Linked DNA regions of Homo sapiens: regions 1 and 3 are each linked to region 2. Evidence: promoter capture Hi-C in human tissues and cell types (Jung and others, 2019). All regions are on one chromosome and are shown on one strand. The core of a region is centred on a gene start or on the middle of the fragment in contact, and the rest is flanking DNA. Distances in the headings are between cores, read along the strand shown.

What was found. The method cuts DNA at HindIII sites, captures the fragments that hold promoters and counts their contacts. A contact is called where the count stands out against the background at its distance.
Region 1: the fragment with the promoter of PGD here is called in contact with a fragment that was not itself captured in region 2 in 1 of the 25 tissues and cell types used here (dorsolateral prefrontal cortex).
Region 3: a contact is called between the fragment with the promoter of H6PD here and a fragment that was not itself captured in region 2, in 1 of the 25 tissues and cell types used here (dorsolateral prefrontal cortex).

What each region holds. Positions count from the first base shown.
Region 1 is chr1:10,397,516-10,400,755 of GRCh38, reverse strand. It overlaps PGD (phosphogluconate dehydrogenase), which reads right to left and starts at 1,692. Exons shown (of 13, transcript NM_002631.4): 1 at 1,631-1,692; 2 at 1,052-1,127; 3 at 184-363. The coding sequence starts at 1,638. RefSeq lists silencers at 926-1,102, 1,195-1,514 and an enhancer at 1,995-2,304. The HindIII fragment of the contact is 25,181 bases long and covers 1-3,240 here.
Region 2 is chr1:9,818,170-9,821,493 of GRCh38, reverse strand. All of the region lies in intron 1 of CLSTN1 (calsyntenin 1), which reads left to right. Among named protein-coding and RNA genes, the nearest start is that of CLSTN1, 4.1 kb to the left of the region's middle. The HindIII fragment of the contact is 3,392 bases long and covers 1-3,140 here.
Region 3 is chr1:9,232,844-9,236,111 of GRCh38, reverse strand. It overlaps H6PD (hexose-6-phosphate dehydrogenase/glucose 1-dehydrogenase), which reads right to left and starts at 1,338. Exons shown (of 5, transcript NM_004285.4): 1 at 1,046-1,338. RefSeq lists a silencer at 926-1,485. The HindIII fragment of the contact is 6,904 bases long and covers 1-2,960 here.

The DNA.
Region 1 (3,240 bases), core at 443-2,942, 580 kb before region 2:
GACAAAGTTACTTCATAAGCGCTTATCAAGTTAACCAACACTGCAACAGTTAAGCAATCATTTGGTCAGAGCTTAGCAGAAATTGAAAAAAAAAAATCTCTAGAGTTAAAAGAAGGAGAACTAAAGGAAGAAACCAAAAACAGCTGCTATCGTGGTAGCAGCTGAGAGCACAGCTGGCCTCACCAATTTCTCGATGAAATCATCCACAGCTTGCCCAGCCTTCACCAGGAGGATGATCCGCCGGGGCTTCTTCAGCTTGGAGACCATCTCTTTCAGGGACTGGGCACCCACCACTTTGGTTCCCTTTGCCTCATTGGCCAAGAAATCATCAACTTTGGAGACAGTCCTATTAAAAGCACAGACCTAGAAGGACAAAAGTCCTGAGTAGGAGATCCAGGACACACAAGACTTTCAGACTGTGGCCAAAGTAACAATGACCTTTCCATTCAACCCAAGTTCTGGGGAGGTCAGACCTGCCTTTGCCTTTTCTTCCCCCAGCTGTGGGAGGCTCACTGTAAAGTTATGTCACCTCAGTAGGATGAAAACGGCGGACAACCGAGGCGAAGGCCAACTACCCCCGGTGTGTCAGGTAGAATCCACACCCAACGTGTTAGGACTCAAAATCAAATCCAGGAACTGGCCGGTTCAACAGGCTCTATCTGTTGTTATTGATCATCCTGGCGTCTAAGCCACTTTAACATTTAGAAGAAACATTTTCACTCTCCCCAGATCTCATCAGGCAATCAAGTTAGAGCTCTACACAGCCAGCAAGGGTTCTCCTCCCGCACCCTTCTTCTCTACTTAAGACACTAATTCGTTCATTCGGGCTGTGAACCTCACGGACCCACAGGCACACTCCGCAGGACTAAGTTCGGGATCGGCCCGCCCACGCCTACAGGGTGCTTCTCCTTTCCATACAAAAATGCCACGAGCAGCAACAGAGCACATTAGCAAAGCACGGCCAGGAGACCCGTAAGCTCCCAAACCTATCGCCGGCCTCGGCTAAAGCGCCCGGGAACCAGAGAGAAGACAACGCGCCCACGCCGCTTACCACAAAGCCGTGGTCATTCATGTTCAGAATTAAGTTCTGGCCCATGACGGCCAATCCGATCAGCGCGATGTCAGCTCTAGAGAGGCAGAAACAGAACAAAGGAAAGAGTCAGCACCGCTCGACGCGCTGCAACCCAGGGGTCCGGTCCTTCCACATTTGGCCGTGACTGGGAGTCTGCACTTTCCTCCGCGCCTCCCGCGGGCCCCCAGAAGCCGGGCGCGCACGCTGCAGAGCCTCGGCCGGGCAGGCGGCCCCCAGCCCCGCCCTCGCGCCCGGCTCCCGCTGGCACGCGTCCCGCAGGTGTCCCTGCAGACTCGGCGAGGCCTGGCCGCGCCTCCTCCCTGGCCCTCGAAGGGACCCGCCCCGCCCCATGCCTGCGCGGCCGAGAGGGCAGGGGGCCGGGCCCGCAGGGAAGGAGCTCTGGGCCCGAGACGCCGTAGGGCCAGGGTCACAGAGCCCCAAGTGAGCTCAGGCGACCCCCAGGGTGGGAGGCGTCGGAGAGAACGAGGGAGATCTCGACCCCCAAAGAGTTCCCCGCCCGCTGAGGCCGAGCCGGGCTGCCCCTGGCGAGTCACTCACTGGGCCATGGCGGCGGACAGAGCAGAACCGAAGAGCGGCGACGCGCGGAGGACGAGTGAGGGAAAGACCCGCAGCGGCTCCCTCCAGAAACTGCGGCCGCTCACGCCCGGCTTTTCGGCGCCGGCCAATCGAATGGAAGGGGGTGGAGCCATGAAGCCACACCATTGGCTCTCCCCGACGCCTGTTAGACCATCCGAGGCAAACGTGCCCGCCCACCCCCGGGGGCCGGATCAGTGGAGCGCCGAGCACCTAGATGACATTGCCCCGGCGAGGCTCCGGGCTCCCCGCCCACGCGCAGAGCTTTCCGCTCGTCCCAGCTGCACCTCGGTCCTGCAGGCCGTCCGCCTGGCGCAGCTGTAGCCATAGCAACTCACGCAGGACCGCGCTTTACAGTTTACCAGGCACTCGGACGCCTTTGGCGCGAGCGCCCGTCGCTCCTTCCTCAGGTCACTGCGGTGCACCGTGCGGGTCCGCGTCGTGTCCTCCGCTCCGGAGCAGGGACCGGGCGTGCTCGTTCAGTCCTGTGCGCACTCGGAATGGGGCCGGGGAAGGCTGAGCCTCAGGGCGACCCTGATGTGGAGCCGTGCGACCGCTCACTGCGGTTGAAGAGACCCAGGCGCAGACAGCGCAGGCGGGGTATGTATTGGTTGGAGTATGATGGGGTCAGGACTTGAGTCTTTTACCCAGGCCCGGAGTTAACGGTATTGAACCCCTTCTCATTTTGTAGAGGCTATGTGACCCGCGAGATGGACCAGGTTAAATGCAGAGGCAGATACAAAAAACCAGCCATCTTAAGCCAGACATTTGCAAAGTAGCCAAGCAGCGCTTCTTATCTTACTGAGTCCCTTCTTGCTAGGAGGAAATTGTTATTCAGAAGTTTGAGTTTTAGATTTTTTTTGTTTTTTTTGAGACGGAGTCTCGCACTGTCGCCCGGGCTGGAATGCAGTGGTGTGATCTCAGCTCACTGCACCTTCCGCCTCCCGGGTTCAAGCAATTTTCCTGCCTCAGCCTCCCAAGTAGCTGGGATTACAGGCGCCCGCCACCACGCCCAGCTAATTTTTGTATTTTTAGTAGAGATGGGGTTTCACCATCTTGGCCAGGCTGGTCTCAAACTCCTGACCTCGTGATCCGCCCGCCTTGGCCTCCCAAAGTGCTGAGATTACCGGCGTGAGCCACCGTGCCCGGCCTTTTTTTGATGTCATTGTTGAGATGGAGTCTGGCTGTGTCTCCAGGCTGGAGGGCAGTGGCGCGATCTGGGCTCACTGCAACCTCCACCTCCCAGGTTCAAGCGATTCTCCTGCCTCAGCCTCCCAAGTAGCTGGGACTACAGGTGTGTGCCACCATGCCCAGCTAATGTTTTTATTTTTAGTAGAGACAGGGTTTCACCATGTTGGCCAGGCTGGTCTCGAACTCCTAACCTCAAGTGATCCACCCACCTCAGCCTCCCAAAGTTCTGGGATTAGAGGTGTGAGCCACTGTGCCCGGCCGGTTTTTAATTTTTATAAAGACCAGGTCTTTGCTCTGTTGCCCAGGCTGGAGTGCAGTGGCATGACCATAGCTTACTGCAGCCTTGAACTCCTGAGGTCGAGCAATCTTCTAGCCTCAACTTC
Region 2 (3,324 bases), core at 195-2,694:
TTGTAGAGACCCTCAAATTTTATTTTAATTATAGCTGTAGTTCTCAAAAAACATTGAGTAGAGCTGGGTGCAGTGGCTTGCGCCTGTAATCCCAGCACTTTGGGAGGCCGAGGCCAGCGGATCACCTGAGGTCAGGAGTTCGAGACCAGCCTGGCCAACATGGTGAAACCCCATCTCTGCTAACTATATAAAAATTAGCTGGGTGTACTGGTGGACGCCTGTAACTCCAGCTACTTGGGAGGCTGAGGCAGGAGAATTGCTTGAACCCAGGAGGCGGAGGTTGCAGTGAGCCGAGATTGCGCCACTGCACTCCAGCCTGGGTGACAAAGCAAGACTCCATCTTAAAAACAAATTCAGTAAGCCAAAATATTAGAAGAAATATCTTTGGCATGCCCTGGACGGTCATGTCCTTCAGCTACCTGCCTTCTTCATGGAGATCGGGAAATAGAACAGTGAAGCAGAGAAAATAGAAAGCTTATATGAATATTTAAAAAATGCAACCATGTAATGCATTTCGAAGCCACTTAATACATAAAATTCACTGTTACTTTTCCATTTGCACATAGGCTTAGTGAGACCTCCCCTCACCATCCTATTTGAAATAATTTCTCTTCCTGAACCCCTAAATCCTGTTTCCCTGCAACACTTTTTCTTTTTGCATAGCACTTAGCCCATTCTAACATGCCTTGTTGTTTACTTATTGAATTGTTTATCGTCTGTTTCCCCTCAGTAGAACATATGCCCCAAGATGGAAGGGTATCTGCTTTGCATATGTTTCCCGTCACCAGCACACCAGAGGCATGCCAGTATTGTGTGATTGAATGAATGAATGGGTGGATGGATAACAGCATTTCAGTTTAGACAGCGTAGTAGCTTTGCATCCTAATTTTCACTTTACAGATAAATGCTATATACTGAAAAAAATTACATAGTGTAAAGCAAACTTAAGTTTTTTTTTTGTTTGTTTTTGTTTTTGTGACAGAGTCTCATTCTGTCACCCAGGCTGGAGTGCAATGGCGCGATCTTGTCTCACTGCAACCTCCGCCTCCCGGGTTCAAGAGATTCTTCTGCCTCAGCCTCACCAGTAGCTGGGACTACAGGCATATGCCATCACACTGGGCTCATTTTTGTATTTTTAGTAGAGACAGGGTTTCACCATGTTGGCCAGGCTGGTCTGAACTTCTGACCTCAAGTGATCCGCCTGCCTCTGCCTCCCACAGTGCTGAGATTACAGGTGTGAGCCACTGCACCCGGCCCAAACTTAAATTCTGCAGTGTCGATATGGGAATTCATTAGTGGGTAAATTTTCAAGGATCATGGGGCCAGCCTCGGTGGCTCACCCCTGTAATTCCAGCACTTTGGGAGAACTAGGCAGGCAGATTGTTTGAGCCCAGGAGTTTGAGACTAGCCTGGGCAACATGGTGAAACCTTGTCACTACAAAAATACCAAAAAAAAAAAAAAAGTTCAAGGATCAATTCTGTTGGTTGCAGTATTGGGGATATTAGATCATGAAACTCTGTCTCAGCCTTTGAAGGCTGTAGCTCTGTGGCTACCCCTGTTAGTCCCTTTAAAAATACTATAATTTTCAGCTTTTTTGGGAAGATGGTTTCTTAATTTGTTACCTCGTTTTTTCAGAAGTAACGATGTGGAAAAAAGTCGTTCGAATATAGACCTCAGTATTACCCATAGTCTAACATTTTTAATACTGAAAGTAAATAACATTTATTTCTCAAAGGAGACCTATAACTGCTGAAGAAATAATAAAATACGAACAATTTTGAATATATTCCAATTTTAGAGCATTCACTCGGTTAACTGGAACCTTCAGTTAGCTGGAATTCGTCCTTTGGCTGGATATTTCTTTTGGGAGAAAAAGCATGAAACCAAGCAGTTTTATAGGAATTATTTTTCAAAAGGAAGGTTTAGGAGGTCATAACATACATTATCTGTGCCAGTATTTGATATTCAAGCCAAAAACGCAAATAATATTTCAGTTTTAGTTATGAAGAATATGACCAAAAAATGAAATTTTTGTGGGATATAAAATATTACATTGAAAATAGAAAATGCTGTAATTTCGTAACACTAGCTGCAGGACTTAGTGAAGCTTATTAAACCAAGTCTAAATGTTTAAAATGAGGAAGCTGAGATAGGTTAAAATTTTAGAACAAAGGAAAAAAAGTACTGAGTTATTTTTATTATTGCTTTCTGAGACAGGAAAGTATGTTTTTTAATTTTTTTGGGTAGTTTTCATTTATAAGAGTTGAAACAAAATAGAGATCTGATTATCCTAAAAAACCGCCAAGAGTCTATTTCTTATGTATTCTGGTTGAGGGCTTAGATCATTAAAACTTGTTTTTTTAGTGGGTCTTAATTTGGTGTGAAGACTTGCTTGAAGGGGCCGGGTGCGGTGGCTCACACCTGTAATCCCAGCATTTTGGGAGGCCAATGTGGGTGGATCACGAGGTCAGGAGATCAAGACCATCCTGGCTAACACGGTGAAACCCCATCTGTCTCTACTAAAAAAAAATACAAAAAATTAGCCAGGCGTGGTGGCAGGTGCCTGTAGTCCCAGCTATTCGGGAGGCTGAGGCAGGAGAATGGCGTGAACCCGGGAGGTGGAGCTTGCAGTGAGCCGAGATCGCGCCACTGCACTCCAGCCTGGGCGACAGAGTGAGACTCCGTCTCAAAAAAAAAAAAAAAAAAAAAAAAAAAGAGTTGCTTGAAGAAATATGTCTTTATAAGTGAAATTTAAAATGTTGATTTGCTACAAAATACGGATTTTAGTAGTGTTTCAGGACTACAGATTCAAGATTGGTGGAAATTATTTATGCAATGTCATGTTCGTGCATTAAAAAACAACCAAGGCCTGGCGCGGTGGCTCATGCCTGTAATCCCAGCACTTTGGGAGGCCAAGGTGGGTGGATCATGAGGTCAAGAGATGGAGACCATCCTGGCCAACATGATGAAACCCTGTCTCTACTAAAAATACAAAAATTAGCTGGGCATGGTGGCATGCATCTGTAGTCCCAGCTACTTGGGAGGCTGAGGCAAGAGAATTGCTTGAACTCGGGAGGCGGAGGTTGTAGTGAGCCGAGATCACACCGCCGCACTCCAGCCTGGCGACAGAGTGAGACTCAGTCTCAGGAAAAAACAAAAACAAAAACAAAAAAAAACCCAAACGGCCAGGCATGGTAGCTGACACCTGTAATCCCAGTGCTTTGGGAGGCCAAGATGGGTGAACTGCTTGAGTCCAGGAGTTCGAGACCAGCCTGTGCAACATGGTGAAACCCCATCTCTACTAAAAATACAAAACAATTAGC
Region 3 (3,268 bases), core at 89-2,588, 590 kb after region 2:
GAGGCTGAGGTGGAAGAATCGCTTGAACCAGGAGGAGAAGGTTGCAGTGGGCCGAGATCGCGCCATTGCACTCCAGCTTGGGCAACAACTAACCATCAACCACAGAAAAATGCCAAGGAAAAACTCAGACAGCTTTTCATGATCTTCCAATCATAATGATGAAAAATTAAAGGGATATGATGCATAATTTAAAATACGCTGTCTGGGCGTGGTGCTTCACACCTGTAATCCCAACACTTCGTAAGGCTTAAGCAGGAGGATCGCTTGAGCCCAGGAGTTCGAGACCAGCCAGGGCAACATAGTGAGACCACTGTCTCTACAAAAGGTTTAAAAATTAGCCAGGCGTGGTGGTGTGCGCCTGTGGTCCCAGCTACCCCGGAGGCTGAGGCAGGACGATGGCCTGAGCCCAAGAGGTGGAGGCTGCAGGGAACCGTGTTTGTGCCACTGTACTCCAGCCTGGGCAACCAAGCAAGACCCCATCTTTTATAAGTAAAAGATTTTTTACTTTTATATAAAAAAGTAAAAAGATAAAATAAAAAATATGCCCATTTGACACCAGTTTTCCCTCATCTGCTGCCTTTCATGAGCCATGGGCCTGTTGTGGGTGCAGGGGGAGTGGGCAAGGACACTTCTTTCCAGAAGTTCTCACTTCTGGCTAAGCATTCAAGGTTGGGTGAGCTGATTTTCAGAGATCCAGAGAGGTTTGCCCCTGGAAAACCGTTCACTAGATCCGGGTACGGGAAACGCTATGTGAAACCCGAGGGCCAATCAATGCCAAAGATTAAGCAGGTCCCGGGGGAAATCTCGGAGTTCCCCCTCTCCTGGAACTCAGTTCCGGGAAGCCCAGGGAAAGGACAGCTCGGCCGCTCGGGGCGACCCTGGAGGGAGCCTGGCCGCCTCCTGAGCAGTTCCAAAGCCGCCAGCCCCAGGCTCCGTGGGGCTGGCAGCGCAGGCTCCGGGGCTCGGCGCGGCCTCGGGCCCGGCGGCAGCGCGGGTTGGAGGCGCCGGGGCCGGGGCGGCGGCGGGGCCGGCGGGGGGCGCTTACTTCCTCTCGCGCGGCGGCGCAGGCCGCTCCTCCGGGACACGGCCGGGGCGGCGCTGAGGGCCGGGCCCGCTCCCGAGGGCTCCCCTGCGCCCTGGGCCGCACCTCCTCTTCCGCAGGGCCCGTCACTCCGACAAGTGCGCGTGTCACGCGGCCACGCGCCGCACGACACTCCGATACCGCCCGCGGAGCCCGCGGCGGCCGCAGGGGAAGGCGCGAGGCCAAGGCCAGCCCGGCCGCCACCCCGCCCCAGGCCTCAGGCCTCAGGCCTCCACCGCCTTGCGCTCAGCAAGACTGGGGCCCGGGCCGGGGGCGCGCGCGGCGGGGGCGCGCGCGGCGGGGGCGGGGGCGGGGCGGGGGCGCCGGCGAGGCCACGCCCTCCGCTGGCGGCCGCCGGGGCGGGGCCTCGGAGCTTCCGGGGCGAGGCGGTGGGTCAGCTCCGAGCCTCCGCCCCCGCCCTTCCCTTCGGCCCCCTGGTGGCCGTGCGTCCTAGAGCTGTCCTGCCGCGTCCGAGACGCGCGCGGGACCCAGAAGTGGCCGAGGGACGTGGTTGTGTCGTGGAGGGGACCCGGGGTGCTGGCTGCTCCCTACGATCTGGCACCCGCTCTGGGACTCCTCAGGCCTCGCTTTTCCCCATCTGTAGAATGAGCGGCTCGGTCTTTCCCGTCTTCAATATCCAGAGTAGGGATTTAGAAGTCGGAGCGCACACGCTGGCCACGCCTCCGCGCACAGCTTCAGATCTCTGCCACCCCTTATCACTTGTGTGACCCTGAGTTCAGTTTCTTCATCTGTACAGTGGGGACAATGGGAGTACCTGCCTCCGGGGTTGTCTGGCACTTGGGTGCTTAGTAAGCGGAAGCTTGGACCCGTGTGGCAAATAGAAGACTTTTGCTAAGACATTGCTAAGAAAGACAGCAAATGGAATCAGGGCTTCTCTGTAGGGTGAGAGGTATTTAAGTGAGAAAACGGGATCAGCTGCCTCTCAGAGCACTCAGTCCCCTTCCTGTCCCCCACCATTATCAGGCAGTAGGTGGCCCTCACCATGCTCCCCAACCTGCTCCCCACTTTTTCTTTTTTCTTTCTTTTCTTTTCTTTTTTTCTTTTTTTTTTTTTTTTTTTTTTTTGAGACAGGGTCTCGCTCTGTCACCCATGCTGGAGTGCAGTGGCGCTATCACAGCTCACTGCAGCCTCCGCCTCCCAGGCTCAAGTGATCCTCCCGCCTCAGCCTCCCAAGTAACTGGGATCACAGATGTTCGCCACCACTCCTGACTAATTTTTCAACTTTTTGTAGAGACGGGGTCTCACTTTGTTGCCCAGGCTGGTCTCGAACTCCTGGGCCCAAGTGATTCTCCCACGTTGGCCTCCCAAAGTGCTGGGAGGAGATTCTGACCTGAGAGAGAAACTGTGCTGCAGCTTTTTATTTCCCGATGGTTCCATTAGAGGTGGGAGCGTCTGGAACTAGCAGTGGCAACTTGGCAGTGGCCGGCAGGACTGAATGGGGCCAACAGGCATGATTACCACACAGGATGTTAGGCAAGGGGTTCCGGGAAGGCTGGGAACTGAGGGGAGCTGGGCCTCACCGTCACCAAGGCCAGAGGCCATCCGGGCGCCCGCAGAGGGCTGCCAAGCCTCGGCAAGGATTTAGGTCACACTGAGTGGGCCTGGCAGAGGGGGGAGCCAGGGAGCCAGGCACTCTCTGGGCTACCTCCACAGCTGGAAGTGAGCAGGAGGGCTTAGGGCAGGAGCGGGCCAGAGCAGACTCGAATGATGCCGGGACTCTTGGCCTAGAGCCCTTCCCATGTTCTGTGGCCCTGAGTGTGTCAGGCACCCACATAGCTCTGAAAACCAGGGCCCAGGAAGGCACAGATAGAAGTGGGCAGGTGTCCAGAGGCATGACCGGGGGTTCGTTTCCCAGATCTCCATGTGGCCATCAGAGGGTGATCTGCTACCTTGAGGGCTTCTTATAAATAGCCCCAGGTCAGGCGTAGTGGCTCATGCCTGTAATCACAGCACTTTGGGAGGCCGAGGCAGGTGGATCCCCTGAGGTCAGTAGTTCGAGACCAGCCTGGCCAACATGATGAAATCCCATCTCTACTAATAATACAAAAAAAAAAAAAAAAGCCAAGCGTGGTGGCGTGCCTGTAGTCCTAGCTACTCAGATGGCTGAGGCACGAGAATCGCTTGAATCCAGGATGCAGAGGTTGCAGTGAGCCAAGATCGCGCCAT